Linked DNA regions of Homo sapiens: region 1 is linked to region 2. The links are contacts of gene promoters, found by promoter capture Hi-C in blood cells and fetal thymus (Javierre and others, 2016). All regions are on one chromosome and are shown on one strand. Each heading gives the region's core, a stretch centred on a gene start or on the middle of the fragment in contact. The rest is flanking DNA. Distances are from core to core; before and after follow the strand shown. Region 1 holds the start of NAP1L4 (nucleosome assembly protein 1 like 4). Region 2 holds the start of RRM1 (ribonucleotide reductase catalytic subunit M1).

Evidence for each region. The method cuts DNA at HindIII sites, captures the fragments that hold promoters and counts their contacts. A CHiCAGO score of 5 or more calls a contact.
Region 1: a fragment that was not itself captured here is called in contact with the fragment with the promoter of RRM1 in region 2 in 1 of 17 cell types (total B cells); the score reaches 5.9 in total B cells.

What each region holds. Positions count from the first base shown.
Region 1 is chr11:2,987,790-2,992,440 of GRCh38, reverse strand. NAP1L4 (nucleosome assembly protein 1 like 4) reads left to right here and starts at 112. Exons shown (of 16, transcript NM_005969.4): 1 at 112-187. RefSeq lists enhancers at 1-142, 687-1,543. The HindIII fragment of the contact is 489 bases long and covers 1,854-2,342 here.
Region 2 is chr11:4,093,452-4,097,961 of GRCh38, reverse strand. It overlaps RRM1 (ribonucleotide reductase catalytic subunit M1), which reads right to left and starts at 3,163. Exons shown (of 19, transcript NM_001033.5): 1 at 2,931-3,163. The coding sequence starts at 2,949. RefSeq lists enhancers at 2,934-3,403, 3,464-3,533. The HindIII fragment of the contact is 7,950 bases long and covers 1-3,868 here.

The DNA.
Region 1 (4,651 bases), core at 849-3,348, 1.1 Mb after region 2:
TGGTTGCTGACTGCGGCGCGAAGCGCAGTTGACTTGCGCCGCGCTCGGCGAATCGCAGCCTGTCTTGCTCGCGGAGAGAGGAGCTAGGAGCCTCGGCCAATGGGAGCCGGCGTTGTTGGAGGCCACGGCGGCGCAGCCCCAAAGCGAGCGAAGCTAGGGTCGCCGCCACTGCCGCAGGAGGCGTGAGGTGCGGAGACACGGGTGCTGGGCCGGTAACGGCGCGCTGGGGAGGGCGGCCGGGCCCGGACGGGCGGGTGGGGCCGCGGGTCCGGCGCGGGCGCGGCGGCGGCCATCTCTGGAAGCCTCGGGGCGGTGGGGCAGGGGCGGGGCCGCGTTCTGGTCGGGGCAGGCAGCGGCGGCCGCGGCGGGGCCTGGGGCTTGGGGCCTGGAGCCCGGGCCTGGGGCGCTGGCGGGAGGCCCCTCCCAACTCCCGGCGCGCCTCGCCCGGCTGCCCGCCTCACTGAAGGTCAAGGCGCTTTGTTCTGCGCCGCGGGCGGCCTCCTGGGCGGCGGCCCCTTGGAGGAGGCGAAGACGGCGAGAGGCGGCGGCCGCTCAAATCTCCCGCTAGCCCAGCCCGCCCCGCGTGCGGGGGCTGTGGCGGTTACACGGCCGGGCGCGCCGGAGCGTTCAGGCTTCCCGTTTTTAAGGTGGAGACGTCCAGGACTTCTTTATTAGATGTTTAGGAATTTGAGTTTTTCCGTAGGGCGGTTGTCATCGTGAGCCTCTGTGGGGTCAGGCTGGGCTAACTGGGGTTTTGATGTCAGTTTGGTGTGGCCGAGGGCATGTCTGACGGGGAAGAAAGTCCTTGGCGTTGCTTCTTAGCTGTTGGGAGCTGTGCGGTGGGAGCGAGCTGGGCGGCGTGCGCTCCCCGAGGACTGGCCTGAGTGGCCTTAGACTAGTTACTCACGGGACTTGGTTTCCCAGCCAAGGTGGGCAGCAAGTCTGTTTACTATTTAAAACCGTCTTTCACAAGGGAAAAGCAAAATCTCCAAAAAAAAAAATTGTACATGTTATGGATGGGAAAGTGCCATGCTTTTCTTTCAGTTCAGAGATGGTGGAAGAGGTCACATTTGTATTTTTTGACCTGACCAGAGTCTTTGTTGTTTTCAATTTTCCCCTTCTGAATGCTTTCCGTTCACCCCAGCGAAGGATGGCCTGGTCATGATAAGACTTTCCACCGTCCACAGTTCTCTAAGTCTGATTGCGGGGCAGGAGGCAGACATGTTTAGGGTCCAGTAAAGGGGACTCCAGCCTTGGGACCTTTAGACCCTAACGTGTGTGTCACATCACCTGCCTGGGTGACTGTGCGCTCCTCTGGCAGGAAGGTCCGCCATTTCATTATGTTCTCGGAGGAATCGTCGGGGCACATTCGTCTGTGCTTTGGTTCGCATCCCCCAGTCTGCATTACTTTTTCCTGTAGTAACCCGTGCCTTATCCTCCTGCATTAGGTTTACGGGGTGAAAATAGACTTTTAAAAATTCTCTTACCTTAGAAATATACAAATATGTAGATTAGGTTGTTGGACCTTAAAGGTAAGTCTTTCTAAGTTACTACCTTCCTGTAATAGTAACTATACCTCTAAATGACTAATACCTGCACTGCGCACCAGGGACTCTTTCAGCCTGTTTGCGTGTGTTAACTCATTTCATAATCTAATAACCTGAGATAGATGCTATTGTTTTTCCATTTAACTACTCTGGAAGCTGAGGCCCTGGGAGGTTAGGTATAATGACTTGTCCGAGGTGACAAAGCTTAAAGACCCAGGCAGTTTTAACTGTACCCAGGGTTACTGCTTCTGTAGAGGGAATGAAAGAAGTTTTAATGAGAAATTGTTTTCATCATTGTGCTAAGCTTAACTGAACTCTAGCTTACGAGGTTTTGAGCTGGTTGATCATTTCCATCTCAAAATTCTCTTATTCCACAGAATGCCAAATGCCTCCTATAGTAGAATTTTGAGATTCAGACTGGGATGAGCAATTGCTAATGGAATAAATAATATGCAAATGTAAAATGAAGTTCAGAGAAAGCAACGTGGTGATAGAATGGGAAAGTAATCCAAAGATAAAATGAGTGACTACAGAGAGAGAGAAAATTAGTTATTTAGTAGTAGTTCACAAGTTTACTTAGAGATATTTTTACTAGAATTTCAGGGCCTTATGATGTGATTTTTATGAACCATTTTAACACGTTACTGCCGTCTTAAATAGCTGTTATTACATATCCAATTGCAGTCTTTTTTTTTTCCTGGTTGAGCAGTGTTAGCTTCAGAATGTCTGCAGTTATTTGTGCCTATATGTCATATAGGCACATATAACACTTTTGTGAATTTTGTTGTGTAAGCTTTAAATCCGGTACTGTTTTTCAAAATGAATATGGAGTAGTCATTGGAGAAATTGGTTGAATTCTTTGCAGTAGCAAATAAATTTTAATCATTTTTAAGTTTGATAACTTTGGTAAACTGAATTCTGAAAAGTTTACACATGTTTTAGGATGTCCTCAAAATGTACAGGGCATTGTGTTTTGCAAATTAGCCATTTAGCCATCAGATTCTTCTGTAGAATTTTGATCTTTTTGCCCATATGAGAGGTAGTTCTTATTTGTATGGAGGTTAAGTACCTGCGGATGGGATGTGTTCATCACCACTTTACAGTATGAATTTGAATTTGAAACTGAAATGAAAACTTCCTAACCTGTCAGAGTTTTTAGTAGCCTCTTGTTATTGACCGCATGTTAATTCCCTTTGTTAGCTATTCGCAGCTAAGTGTGGGGACTGAAATCTTTATTTTGTTTTCCTTCTTTTGAGCAGTTGATAGTCTCTAGCATCAGGAGGAGGTGACCTCAAATATGTATGTATATATAGTAGTGCTTTTCTTCCTTCCCTTTAGTTGTCTGCAGTTTAAAAATTATTGTGATAAGTTTATGTTGTACTTCCAAAAATGTTGCCAAAGAGCCTATATTTTTCAGTTTGTTTTGGAAGAAAAATACTTTGTGGGCAAGAAGGTGATTTAAATTCCTGACGGCCTAAGAGGCGTCAGCTGTGTGAAATAGGCGAGTGCTGTTACTGCTTGAAACCATGATGGTTTATATTTGAATAAGACAGCAGAGATGAGCTTGTTGGGAGTTTGGCCTGAGATTGCTAGCTAAGGAATGCTTGCTTTTTTGCTTAAAGGGAAAAGTGTTTTAGGCTTCCAGAGTAGAAATCTGATATTACTTCGTTTGATTCTTCGACCACTATGGTGATAGGAAGTAGCTGATCTCTGCAGGAAACTGCTGTTACCTGGCCTCAGCTGAATTTTTGTGGGACCTCCTGAGGTAAGCAAATTTATGCCTCCCGAAACTATAGTTGTAAGGTTTGTCTTTGAGCATATAGTAATGGAAAACCCTTATCAGTAGGTAGATAGTAAATAATTTTGTATTTGGCTGCTAATGAAATTTTTAAGAAATAGTTTGTGGTGATATAAATTAGTTTTCATCTGGCAGTCATTGGTTTTCCACCCTGCCCTCTTAAGAGAGAACAGGGTTGCTTTACTTTGTTTGCCAGAGCTTTACATTTTGCATTTAGTAACAGAGGCATTGTGTTTTTATAGTATGAAAACAACGAAAGATCACTTTGTGATCTTTACTTTTTGATTTTGACCACTTCCTGTGTAACCTTAAGTTTCTTACAAGTATCCCCTGTTAACTGTTAAAAACGAAATGTATGTTCATTTCATGTCCTTGGGACTTTTAAAAATGCGCTGTGCATTATCTGGAAAAGCCTGTTCAAAAACAAGATGAGATAATTTCTGTTTAATTTGTGGTAGAAAGAATGACTGTGCACTTTTATGTGCAAAGGTTTTAAGTATAATAATTAAAATAGTACTTGTTTACTCAGTTACCGAAAAGTAGCTTTCAGTGATTTGCATCTGTTTACTTATTCATGAGCATCTTCTATGTACTGGGCACAGTTCTAGGTACTGGGGCCTCCCGCAGAATAAAACAGAAGTCTTTGTCCTTGTTTCTGCTATGGGAGACAGACGAACAAGTTCAATGGTGGCAGGTGCTTTTGAAAAACAGTGCAGAGGAGTAGGGACTTTGGTGGTTGCAATATGAAATAGGTAGAGAGGGAAGTGCCTTATTGACAAGATGACAAGATCTTTTAATATGTACTGGATTAAGAAGTTAGCCTCATTGAGTCGTATGCTAATGAACTGCCCAGAAAAGAAGGGTGGAGGAGATGGGAGTGCAGCAGTAAAGACTGCTGCGCCCCAAGTAAAATGTAGTGTTTTGGTTAAGGAAAGGAAATCATTTTTTGCTTTCTTCTTGAAACCCCAGGGCTTGGCACCGCAGAAGTCTCTGAAGAGACAGTCTGCTGCTGTTTGGAGGCAGGTATTTCAGTAGATCTTGTAACCAAACATGAATGACTAAGGCAGTGTTTCTCCTCTGTGTCTTCAGAAACTGCTTGAGATGTGTGCATGCAGTCCCGGGCACCATGCGTGCTGGGTACTGGTAACACAGAGACAAGTTGTCATTTGGTAGCAGTGAGTTAAGCAAAGATTTCTTGGCAACCAGTCTCATCCCGAGTCTGTTGCTGGGCCTTGGGACTTCTGTATTGAGCAAGTAGACAGGGTCCCTGCCCTCGTGGAACTTGTTCTTTAGTGGGCAAACATGT
Region 2 (4,510 bases), core at 1,914-4,413:
GATGAAAAAAACTCATCTACTATTCTCTTCTATCTAATAATTTTCATATGGATTGTTCCTAAATCCCTAACAATTTTAAGTTCTTTGAAGATAGAGCTGCCTTCTCCATTACTGCCCTCACAGTGTTTAGCAAGACATTAGCATATTCAGTAGGTACTTCAAAGTCAACTTCCAGTTGCCCTTGTTATTAAAAATAACAAAAACTAGCCAGGCGTGGTGGCACACATCTGTAGTCCCAGCTACTGAGGAGGCTGAGGCAGGAGAATCTCTTGAACCCAGGAGGCAGACACTGCAGTGAGCTGAGATCACACCACTGCACTCCAGCCTGGATGACAGAGCAAGACCCCATCTCAAAGAAAATTAACAAAAACTGTAGGAGTTAGTCTGCTATTCCACTGACATGCCAAAAATAAGGGGGTACAAAAAAAGTCCAGAAAACCAAAAACCCTATGCATATTAAAAAACATTAAAATATAGAAACATAGAAATATAAAAAAAAAAAGAAACAAACAAATCTAAGTACATGTTGTATATTAAGTCTTGCTGAATGCTACAATGGCAGAATCTACAGCATGAACCATCTGGATCAAATTGTGCTCTATGAAGGAATGAGAAAATAAGCTCTGCTTTTTAGAGCTAGTTATAGCTAGCACTTTGTGGTTTTTTTTTTTTTTTTTTTTTTTGAGACAGAGTGTCACTCTGTCGCCTAGACTGGAGTGCAATGGCACGATTTCAGCAACCTCTGCCTCCCAGGCTCAAGCGATTCTCCTGCCTCAGCCTCCTGAGTAGCTGGGATTACAGGTGCAAACCACTACCGTCCGGCTAACTTTTGTGTTTTTAGTAGAGACGGGGTTCCACCATGTTGGCCCAGCTGGTCTCAAACTCCACACCTCAAATGATCCACCCACCTCAGCCTCCCAAAGTGCTGGGATTACAGGCGTGAGCCACCATGCCCTGCCACGCCAGGCCAAGGTAGCACTTTTTAAACGAAAGTATTTAGAAGTAGACTCTAAAAGTTCAAAATTCAACACAGGGTTGAATTTTACCCATTCTGGTCATCTAAGTCCATACATTTTCAATTCATCTTTGTTACTGACTTATCATAGACCATCCTAAACATCTCTCCCATATCTAAAGATTTAAAAAATAGATGCTCAAGCCAGGTGCGGTGGCTCCCAGCACTGTAATCCAAGCACTTTGGGAGGCTGAAGTGGGAAGAATGCTTGAGCCCAGGAGTTCAAGACAAGCCTGGGCAACATAGCGAGACTCCTTCTCTAAAAAAATACAAATAAATAATAATGTAAAAAAATAAAAATACAAAAATAGATGCTCAGCTCTCACTCTTATGAATGGATCAATAAAAGTGCACTATGTTATTTTGCTCTTTGGTCAGCTAAAATGTGAGCTAGGAAAATTCACAGAATGATGTTCTCAAGATACCAAAAACAAGAAAGGCCACTACTGTCCACCTTTCCAACTCTTGTCTGTAGTTAAACCAATCTGGACATTGGCTGTAGTTAAACCAAATCAACTACCTGCTTATTCACAGCATTCATCGTGTCCTACATTTTGATACAACTATTTTCATTCATTCTTTAAGAATCTGTTCATGTCAGGTCCTGTGCTAAACGTGAACAGAAAAGTCTCCATCTTGCTTGTATTCCCAGCACTTTGGGAAGCCAAGGAAGGGAGGATGGTTTGAGGCCAGGAATTCAAGGCCAGACTGGGAAACACAGCAAGACTCCTTTACTACCAGAAATTTTTAAAAATTAGCCACTCATGGTGGTGCATGCCTATAGTCCCAGCTACTTGAGAGGCTGAGGCAAGAGCATCGCTTGAGCCCAGGACTTCAAGGTTACAGTAAGCTATGATTACACCACTGCATTCCATCCTGGGTGACAGAGCAAGACTCTGTCTCAAACAAGTCTCCATCTTTGAAATGTTCACAGCCTAGAGGACAAAATAGAAACAACCAGTCGATTAACCAGTATTTACTAAGTGCCTACAATTTTGAAATCATTGTATTGCTTTAACAAAGGCAAGTAGGTTCAACTCAAAACTTGTTCATACGTATCTCATGCGGTTGTTAAAAGTATGTTGCTCTTGTTTTTCCAACCCGATGAAGCCTGTTCCCAAGGCAGGGACTGTCTCCTCCTACAATCTCACAAAGCCAAGCAAAGGGCTGGGCACAAAGCGGGCACTTGGCAAGTCTAATGAAAAAGAACTGTTGAGAAAGAATACGAGTTCCTGACTCTTCCCAGTCCCCATCTTGTCAGAAGATGTCTCAGCCACCCTTCTCTGATTCAGCATCTCTTCCCATGAAGGGAAAGGAACTCGAGGGTGCTGTCTGTCTGGGATCTGTTTTTTCCACGCCACACTCCTATCCTCACCCCACAAAAGAGATCAGTAAACTGACAAGTGCCTACGGAGGGTAGAGAGGCCCCCTCCTTCTTTCCTAGCTGCCCCCCGACCCTGTGCCTAAGACAGCTCACCAACCCCACGGTTTTCAAATCAAACCGTATTGTCACCTATGGGTGACTTTGGGTCAGTCGGCGACACCTCGCTCTGAGCGTCAGTTTCCTCATCTGTAATAAGCTAATCATCTCTCAGAGGCTTGCAGGGAGGAATAAAATAGTGCCTGGCAAGTGCTCGGCGTACGCAGTCACTACTCGATACGGGGTAAGTGTTATCCTTTTGAAAGGCGGCAGGATGACAAAGCCGAGGGGGCGCAGCCTGAAGGCCCGAAGGAGGTTCGGGGCAGGCTGACTGAAGACAGAAGGCCGAGCGGGCTGACAGGGCGGAAGGCCGCGGCGGGAAATGCGGGAAAGGCGGGAAGCAGCGAAGGCGGGCGGGCGGTCTGGGCATCAGCTCCGGCGGCGGCAGCCCGCATCCCCTCACCTTCCTTCTCGCCCACCTCGTCCCCCCCTCACCTCGCTTGATCACATGCATCGCAGCTAGTGGCTGAGGCTCTGAAGGATCCAAGACTGGACTGCGGCTCTAAAGCGCCGGCGGGATCGAGAAGGTGACAGAGTGGGAAGGGTTAGGTTCCAGGCGCTGCTCAGGGGAAAGAACTGGAGTTGGAGCCAGACAGCACTTTCTTCAGAGCAGAGGCGCAACAATCCAAATCCCCTTCCCGCGCCCGCCACCCGTGACGCACAAAGGGGCGCGACGGGGTTCGAATGACGTTACTCGACGCTGCGGCCCACGCCCGGGGTAGGCTTCACAGACTGACAGGCGACGTGTAGCCGCCATGTTGAGTCTGGGCAAGACCCAGAAGACTACGCCTCTCCCATGGGCCCCATTGGATATGGACATGCCCGGCGGAAATGCTGCTCTCCTGCTACCATGTTTTGTGTGGGCAAGCCGAGTTCGGGACCCTCGGGGCCCTGGCGTAGCACCTAGAGCCCGCTGGGTCAGGCGCCGCCCTCTCACCTGCGCGTCTCCGCCGGAGGAAAGGCGGTTAATTTATTTTTGAAATAACAAAACCTAACCGGCGGGAACGTTTTTCTTGCTCTGACATTTATTATAATAATACTAACACTGCCGTCCGCTGTGGGCTCCAGCCCAGGCTCCACAGCCGTGGGCAGCTTGGAGCCCCAGGGCTTTTAGATCGGCCAGAGGACTGACACTCTGGAACTGGAAGAAAACCGCGCAAGGCCGATGGCGTTTGGATTTTATCCTGACGCAAATCAGAGCCCTGAGAGAATTTTAAGCAGGGCAGGGTCAGTACCCATTTGCTTTTAGGGTTCTTCAGTGGATGGTGGCAGAGACAGGGTATTTGCCTTGTGGAGGTAGGATGGACTTGGTGACTTAGAGTGGAGAATAAGAATAGATGAGAACCGTAATATGTAAGGCTGGTGTAGAAGCTTCTGATTTGGGCTACCCAAAGCGATCTTTATGAAATTTCATCTGTGGCATCTTTTCCCTAAAGCCTTTTCGTTGGTTTCTCACTGCCCTCCAGAAGCTGCCCAGGCTCCCTGTGAAGTAATTTCAAAAATCATGGAAAGTCGTAAGTGAGCCTGTAATTGCAGCATTTTGGGAGGCTAAGGCGGGAGCATCATGTGAGGCCAGGTGTTGAGATAAGCCTGGGCAACATAGTGAGACCCCATTTCTACAAAAAATAGAAAAAGTAGGCCAGCGCGGTGCTTCACTCCTGTAATCCCAGCACTATGGGAGGCCAAGGCGGGCAGATCACGAGGTCAGGAGTTCGAGACCAGCCTAACCAACGTGGTGAAACCCCCCCGCTGCTAAAAATACAAAAAGTAGCCAGGCATGGTAGCACGCGCCTGTAATCCCAGCTACTCAGGAGGCTGAGGCAGAAGAATCGCTTGAACGCTGGAGGCAGAGGTTGCAGTGAGCCAAGATCGCGCCATTGCACCCTAGCCTAGGCAAGAGAGTGAGACGCCGTCTCAAAAAAAACAAAAAAAAAGAAAGAAAAATTAAATAGATATGTTTTTTAAAAGTCGTAAGTGAAGTTATAGGATAGATAGGGTCAAGTTTACCCAGACAT